Linked DNA regions of Homo sapiens: all the other regions are linked to region 3. The links are contacts of gene promoters, found by promoter capture Hi-C in blood cells and fetal thymus (Javierre and others, 2016). All regions are on one chromosome and are shown on one strand. The core of a region is centred on a gene start or on the middle of the fragment in contact, and the rest is flanking DNA. Distances in the headings are between cores, read along the strand shown. Region 1 overlaps CD46 (CD46 molecule). Region 2 has its middle 23 kb from the start of LINC02767. Region 3 holds the start of CD34 (CD34 molecule).

Region 1 (2,700 bases), core at 100-2,599, 120 kb after region 3:
AAGAAATACATTTTGTGCCAGGCTTTAACAACAATTTGAGATTATTTGTGCCTGCTAGCCTGCTTCCAGTTACCCCCGGAAGTGGAGAAGTGCCTCCAGACATTTTATAGTCTTTATAAGAAGTTTCTAAGGCCACAACAGCCAATCTGGGGGGACAAGATTATGGACATTAAACAGTGCAAAGAAAATAATGGAAATCTTTGGGGTTTTTTTGTGTTTTTTGTTTTTGAGATGGAGTCTCACTCCGTCACCCAGGCTGGAGTGCAGTGGCGCAATCTCGCTCACTGCAAGCTCCGCCTCCGGGGTTCACGCCATTCTCCTGCCTCAGCCTCCCAGAGTAGCTGGGACTACAGGCGCCCGCCACTATTTTTTTTTTTTTTTTTTTGTATTTTTAGTAGAGACGGGGTTTCACCGTGTTAGCCAGGATGGTCTTGATCTCCTGACCTCGTGATCTGCCCGCCTCGGCCTCCCAAAGTGCTGGGATTACAGGCGTGAGCCACCAGGCCCGGCTGGAAATCTTTGTTTTTTAAGAGTTAAAGAAGGTAAGAAAAGCCAAGTACTATTTATTACCCCATAGCCTTTTTTTAAGGATACACATGGATGAGGAATCTTAAAAACTTCAATTATCTTAAATATTAGAAAAATTTGCCAATAAGCTTCATAGTGTTTCTTCAGACTTCAACAATATAGGCACATCAGTAGTGGGCAACACCCTGGTCAGTGTAGCCCAGGCACAGCAGCAGCATCAGCACTGGGAGCTCACTAGACAGGCAGGGTCTCAGGCTCCACCCCAAACCCAATGAATCAGAATCTGTACTTTAACAGATTTCCAGGTGACTAATGTGCACATTAAAGTCAGAGAAACATTCCTCTAGACTCTGAAGAAGAAAGATAAACCACCCTCACATTCAGTTCAGCTATCAAAATAACATGGAACTACAAAATAATAGATCCATAAAGAGAGCCTAGCTTTGGATTCAGCCATTACATATGCTGAATTTCCAATCGAGTATGTTCCTGTCATAAAAAGGGTAACATCTATTCTAAAAGATTCCCACGCAGTTTATATTTTAAAGTTCAAAGGCAATTAGGAGTTTCGTCTCTCACACCATTTTCTGGACTATTTTTCCTCAAGTTGTGCTACTATTTGCAGGATTAATTATGTTGCATTGGCTAAAGATATCATACCTTCCCAAAATATTTTAAAATTTTAATAATGGCAACTGTCAGTTGGACCCTATGCTGTAAAATATGGGCTTTAAAAAAAAATCACTGGACAAATTAATTTTGGAATCTCAGTTCACTACTGCTATTGAACCTTTCATTTGGGAGTGTAACAGTCAGATAACTGTTGAGCTTTAAAAGACCCATTAAGGCCGGGCGCGGTGGCTCATGCCTGTAATCCTAGCACCTTGGGAGGCCGAGGTGGGCGGATTACCTGAGGTCAGGAGTTCAAGACCAGCCTGACCAACATGGTGAAACCCCATCTCTAGTACAGGTACAACAAATTAGCCGGTGGTGGTGGTGCACGACTGTAATCCCAGCTACTCGTGAGGCTGAGGCAGAGAATCCCTTGAACCCAGGAGGCCAAGGTTGCAGCGAGCCAAGATTGCGCCATTGCACTCCAGCCTGGGTGACAGAGCAAGACTCCATCACAAAAAAGCAAAAAACAACAACAGAAAAACCATTAACTGCTAGCTAGAGAGAGTTTGATTAATACTTGTTAATGAACCTTTAAAAATTCTGATGCAGTGATATTTTAAACAAAGAAGGAAAATAAGCAGAATGCGACTTTGTTTTGTTTTCTTTAGAACTTGTTTCTACGCAAACCTTATGGATTTGTAAAAATATTCCATTGATAATATTTTGTACTCACGTTGTAGATATGTAACTTTTAGAATATACAACTGATAGATAAATCAAATATGCATATCGTGTTCCATTAATACAAGATTTAAGATTCAAGTGAAGGGATTATGGGTATTTCAAAAGATAACCAAGTAATATGAAAAAAGTTTGAGTTCCTTATGAGTAAAGCTTGTACTTTTATGACTTAGCCCAAACCTGATGATCAGTATAAAAGGAATATATATCATAAAACCATGAGTACCAAAAGTCTTAAAATTATTAGGTTTGATTTCAAAGCTATTTCTAAAACTATAGGGGAAAACAGTTTTTAAAAATCAGTAAAAATGAATGTATATTATCTTTCAGAAATTTCAAAGCACCTAATCTTAGTCTGTGTTCCAGGATTCATTCTAAGTCTTTTGTTAAACTGTAAGCTCTTTAACTAAAATTTGAGTTTGATGTTTTAAAACCCTATTTTCTTTAGAAGATATGTACTTGTACATTTTTCTTCTATTCTAAACCCACTCACTTTTTACATTTTTATATATTAAAAGACACAGTTAATTGAGGTACCTTATAGATCTAACCCCTCTCAGCAATTTTAACTTTAACCCTATCAGTTTTACTGCAATCTGGTAAATTCAGAGAACATAAGAGGGAAATCGGATAGTGTTGTTTTGAATCCCCCAGTTTAACATGTATAAATAACAACTTTAAATGAAAAGACACCAAATTGGGTATTTAAATGATATGCCTACATAGCTTCTTGCAACTAGCTAAGCTATATAGACAAGTGGAAACTTTCATTATAAAAATTCCAGTGAATACAACTGTCAAAGTCTCCACAGTGAA
Region 2 (2,700 bases), core at 151-2,650, 71 kb before region 3:
AATCAATGTCTTCCTAGTGGCAGCATTTTCATCCTGGGCAAATCAACCTTTTAGGGCTTATCTTCCTCACCAATAATACATGGTTGTTAATACTAAAGTCATCCTCGTTGGGCTGTTGTGAGATTTAAATGAGACTTTGGGTGTGTACTAGATATTCTGCATCTGCCAATCTCCTCTCCTCCCTTCCCCACCCTGCTCTGTGCTCCTGGAGGCTTCCAACTGGGTCTTCCAGGAGACTCCAGAGGAAGAAGATGAGAGGGCTGATCACCCTGCTGCATGCATGCATGTGTACACATGCGTGCACACACACATGCACACACACGTGCACACACACATGCACACACAGTTTGGCAATGCATCTAAGGGTTGGACAGCCCCGGTCTCATGCAGAGTAACTCCTCCTTCCCTGGTCCCAGCATGCCCAGGGATGGAACTTTGCTCTCGCCAAGGTGCCTTACCCCACTTGTTGGTTTCCTTTAATAGCCACACCTTTGTAAATAGCACTCCCTTAAATTATCCTCAATGGACTTGTCTGAGTATGTCATTTCTTTCCTGCAGCAACCTTGACTATATAGGGTGTGTAATATTATAATCTTGGATGTGTCTGTACCAAAGAAAGACCTGTTTCTTTCTGATTTAATGTCTTCTATGACCACTGGGCACCCCCACTTCTGAGGGATGCAGGAGAAGATGGGGATTTTATTCCACTCGGCGCAGTTTATTCTTAGCACCACTTACGTTCAAGGAACTATTCAGAGAGTTTGCAAAGATGCCCAAGGAATAATTCCTGCCCTGAAAGGGAACAAATGAACATCCTGCGCTTTCCCATCTTTGTGCCTTTGCTCACAGTGTTCCCCTCACCCTGAATGTTCTCTTTCCATCAGTCTAAACCCTCCACTATTACCTTCTTAAGAAACCATTCCATATCCCCAAACCATAAATAAAGCCTTTCTCCCCCAAACACTTCTTTTAAAGCACTTATCTGTTTTTAGTTTGTATTATTCAGTTTGGTTCAACACACATTTACCTGGTGCTTATTTTATGCCAAGCCCTAGGCCAGATGCTGAGAAGTGCAAGGAAAAATATTACACAGTTTCCCCCCTAAGGGAGCTCACTCTCTAGCTGGGGAGACAGAAACATAAATACTTACGATGCAAAGGGAGAGAGGTCGTAACAGAAGTTTGTACAGAACTCTACAGGTTTTAGTTAAGGGAAACACTGTGGAAGCATCTATATAAATGTGGGGCAATCAAGAATATTAGAAGGATGGCACTACACTGTCAGGTGTAGGTTAGGGGAGGCTGGAAGCTTCAGCCTAACAGAAGTCCAGCACACAGGCACATCCGACATGGCACAGAGCATACAAGCAACCATTGGGCAAGCATGAGGCTGTGCTCTTGTTTCCCTGCTACATCTATTGATGGCCTGCAGGGGCGGTATAGGACCACCCCATGCCCTGGTGCCTGGTGGGCCATGGACCAGCTGAAGCTTGATGTCTGATGAAAGGGCTCTAGCTGCTTCCCATCTAGAGTCACAGACCAGACCATAAACTCTGACAGTGGTGCCAGCATAATCCCCCAAACAGCCAAACCTCCAGGGGTCATGAGGCTGAGCACAAGCCCAGATCAGCCATTCTGCAGGAGAAAGCTGGGCAATTTGAAATGATGTAAATTCAAGATATCCTTCTCTCCACAGCTGCACAAGGTCTTGTAAACTCACTATCACAATGAAGAGGACCAGGGAGAGGGAGAAGACATTTCGAAGACTGAGCATTTACCCCCCAAAAGAATGAGTCATTGTTTTCTGACAAGATGGCCAATGAGCATAGGCTACTGGCTCCCACCTCCAAAATTAATCTTGGGGAAACCACAGCAGAGAAAATATACCATGGATCTGATGATCCAAAGATAAAACAGTGAGAAATTCCAGGAAGACCAAAGGCTTCTGAAGACAGAGATCCAGTGTGTGTGAAGGAGACGGGTGGGTGGATGAATGGGAATAGAAAAGGGAGAAGCCCCAGTGGGATATTAGTTGCTCCAAAGTTGTGGTCTTGTACCCCCTCTACACACACATGCACACACACACACACACACACACAAGGTGACCATTGTCTACCTAGAACAAGCAGCATCATAACCAAGTCCTCAGAGATTCCAAGAATATAATCAGAGAAAACCAAAAACCCTATTAGGATAAGAGCTAATGGGACCAGAAATGGACTTCTGTCTGCCCTTGGGCATTCGTTCATCCATCCTACATCCTCTGCTGCCCCTTTAACCCTGAAGCCTGCTGGATCTACTAAAGGGATGGCCACCTCCCAAGTCTGCTTCTTTGAAAGGAAAATACTGGACAGAGGGGTTGCACAGTAAGAAAGTAGCATCTAAAAGGGATCCTAAATTGGGAAGGGGGATAGCAGGTTGCTGGAACATATCAAGAGGGTTTCTGTGGAACCAGGGGCTCTCTGGCTTGGAGCTCATTCCCTCCCCTCTTATTTAAATTCAGCAGGAAGTAATAGACTAAGATTTCAGATGCTCCTTCACTACACAGTACTGCGCAGAATAACTGACAGCCCCAAGGGAACATAAGTTTACGGGCCAAATTAATTTGACCTCAAGGAATAAAACCACTTTAAAAGAAAGGCAACAAACTGAACAATACGCATCCTGTGAACCAGGATAATTGAGACAGATACACCAAGAT
Region 3 (2,700 bases), core at 72-2,571:
TAAGGAGATTTTGGGTTTGTTTTTAGACCTGGATCCTTCTCCTGTGCAACCCCAACGCATAGTAGGTTTGAGATGGACTATAAAGGTAAAGCTACTTTTATAATGCTAGAGTGTCTGCGGAGAAATCAGAAAGGACCACAGAGTGCTGGTCTGGCTTCTCTTTTTTCCCTTTAGGCTATGTGGTACAGACATCATGGAAGAGCCTGAACTGAGTATTTATAATTTCATGATTCTGCTCTGGATATCAGAGCAGCCTCTCCCAGGTTATACCTTATCTGATCCTCCCCTGGTGCCATCATCTGCCCAGGCTGGCTTCTCCTTTCTCCCGTCTCTACGTCCCCAAGACTAGGCTGCCTACCCGGCTCAGAGTTTCTTCTATTCAGTACAACCAACACCCAGAGGAACTGGTGAGGAACAGGAAGCTCAAGGATCTATCAAGTGGTGGAGGATGGAGTCACAGAAAGTCCTTTTTCTGATGGGAGAGCAAGGTGAAATCCCTAGTGGCTTAGACCCAGGGCTGGAGAGGGGATAACTGGTGAGAAGGCATCCAGGGAAGTCCTTTTTCTTTAGGATGATGGTGATGGGGAACTAAATGGGGAAATATGGAAGGTCACAGGAAAAGTTAACACAAGTTAGCAAAAAGTTAACATAACACAAAAAGGTCTTGCAGGAAAAAAAAAAGAAAAGAAAAGAAAGAAAAAGTCTCCAAGAATGGTTTGGACAGCCAAAATGAATACTTATAGTCACGTATACCTGCTCACTCCTGACGCTTCACTCACACACAGCACAGGATCTGGTGAGGCTATCACTAAATGTGCCACATTGTGGTTAAGTTTTACCTGATTAACGAAATGCTCACACTTCTAAACTGAGGTCCTTACAGTAGATTCCTTTTGCAAGATTGTTACTGGCTTACAACTTAAAAATAAAGGAAAATCACAAGGAAAGAAAAGTGGGGAAAAAATCGGAGGAAACTTGCCCCTGCCCTGGCCACCGGCAAGGCTGCCACAAAGGGGTTAAAAGTTAAGTGGAAGTGGAGCTTGAAGAAGTGGGATGGGGCCTCTCCAGAAAGCTGAACGAGGCATCTGGAGCCCGAACAAACCTCCACCTTTTTTGGCCTCGACGGCGGCAACCCAGCCTCCCTCCTAACGCCCTCCGCCTTTGGGACCAACCAGGGGAGCTCAAGTTAGTAGCAGCCAAGGAGAGGCGCTGCCTTGCCAAGACTAAAAAGGGAGGGGAGAAGAGAGGAAAAAAGCAAGAATCCCCCACCCCTCTCCCGGGCGGAGGGGGCGGGAAGAGCGCGTCCTGGCCAAGCCGAGTAGTGTCTTCCACTCGGTGCGTCTCTCTAGGAGCCGCGCGGGAAGGATGCTGGTCCGCAGGGGCGCGCGCGCAGGGCCCAGGATGCCGCGGGGCTGGACCGCGCTTTGCTTGCTGAGTTTGCTGCGTGAGTACCGCCCGCGCGCCGCGGCCGCTTGGCTTCGCCGCGGGGAGGGTGGAGGCTTTCTGGGAGGCTGAACAGCAGAGCAGAGTCTCACGGAGGGAAGGGACCCCTGCCCAACCCACGCACTGCCGCCCACAGCTGCTTCCCCCCGGGGCCAGCGCCTCACCTGGGAGCTGACGGGGGTGGGAGGGGAAGGGAAGGCCATCACCCCCGCGAGTGTGCGTTAGCCGAGGTGTGAATCGGTCAGCACGACTGGTTCCAATGGACTGAGATAAAGCGCTTTGGAGATGCCAGGGTCTCTTCTGGTTGCCAGAGGCGCGGAGTGCGAAGTTGCAGCCAGAACCGGGAGACTGGGGAGGAGAGAAGCAGGAAAAGTTTTGTGGCTCTTGGTTGATTCAGAAAGTATAGACACGGAGCGGATTGCTGGGAAGGGGCCGGTGTGCCCACCTTGCACAGGGACTGGGAGAGCCAGAAGTGGACATTAAGGAATTCGAGGGAAGCGAATCAGGGATGAGGCTCCAGGTCCCAGGCCAGGGGTGTTCGGAATGAACAGTCCGTGAAAAGGAAAAACAAAACCAAACAACCAACCAAACAAAAACCTTGCATTTAAGATTGGGAAGCTGAGTTTGAATTCCCACTTCAGCAACCCCACCGCGGAGGAGGTAGAAGTAGACAGAATTTGCTCTGCGCCCAGCCTCGCTCGCCTTACCAAAAACCGTCACCCCTGCACAAATTTCAAAACTTGTCACCTTTTGGAGTTTTCTTCCTCTGCCCCTGCTCCAAGTTCTAAAGCTAGTGGATGGGTTAGAACACTGCCCCCACTCACCTACACATATCCTTACTCTTAAGGTCTTGCTCTCACTTCGGTTAAAAAAAAAATAGGCACCCGGTAAATATTTATACTCGATTACTTTCCTTGGGGAATGACATTCTCCACCTCATCTCTTTGCACTTGGAAGGTTTGAAACTTTTGAAACTTTGTACATTGCTCTCCCTTTTGCTTACAGCACTCTAGGGCTCCCAATTCTGTACTCTCACTACATCCTAAGGGCCACCCACTGTGGCCCTGCAGAGTGACCTGGACTAGACCTCTTTGTTCCCAGTCTCCTCTGTTGTCCATCTTTGGGTCCGCCCAGCTGGGGACAGCTGCCCCTGGGCTGGAGGAAGCTCTGAGAGAAGTTTTGGGTTGCCCTGTTTGGCAGTCCTGGATGTGTGCTTTGGGGCAAGGAAAAGCTATCAATGAGGTTTCAAAATTCTAG

The links. Contacts are between HindIII fragments. The CHiCAGO score rates a contact against its expected background, and 5 or more counts as called.
Region 1: a contact is called between a fragment that was not itself captured here and the fragment with the promoter of CD34 in region 3, in 1 of 17 cell types (naive B cells). The highest score is 6.6, in naive B cells.
Region 2: a contact is called between a fragment that was not itself captured here and the fragment with the promoter of CD34 in region 3, in 1 of 17 cell types (M1 macrophages). The highest score is 5.5, in M1 macrophages.

The regions. Positions count from the first base shown.
Region 1 is chr1:207,786,046-207,788,745 of GRCh38, reverse strand. The region is part of intron 11 of CD46 (CD46 molecule); the gene reads right to left. Among named protein-coding and RNA genes, the nearest start is that of MIR29C, 15 kb to the left of the region's middle. The HindIII fragment of the contact is 1,381 bases long and covers 659-2,039 here.
Region 2 is chr1:207,980,906-207,983,605 of GRCh38, reverse strand. No RefSeq gene overlaps it. Among named protein-coding and RNA genes, the nearest start is that of LINC02767, 23 kb to the right of the region's middle. The HindIII fragment of the contact is 180 bases long and covers 1,311-1,490 here.
Region 3 is chr1:207,909,746-207,912,445 of GRCh38, reverse strand. It overlaps CD34 (CD34 molecule), which reads left to right and starts at 1,321. Exons shown (of 8, transcript NM_001025109.2): 1 at 1,321-1,444. The coding sequence starts at 1,366. It overlaps LOC107985253 (a long non-coding RNA gene), which reads right to left and starts at 2,078. Exons shown (of 4, transcript XR_001738424.2): 1 at 1,889-2,078; 2 at 1,608-1,791. The HindIII fragment of the contact is 7,449 bases long and covers 1-2,700 here.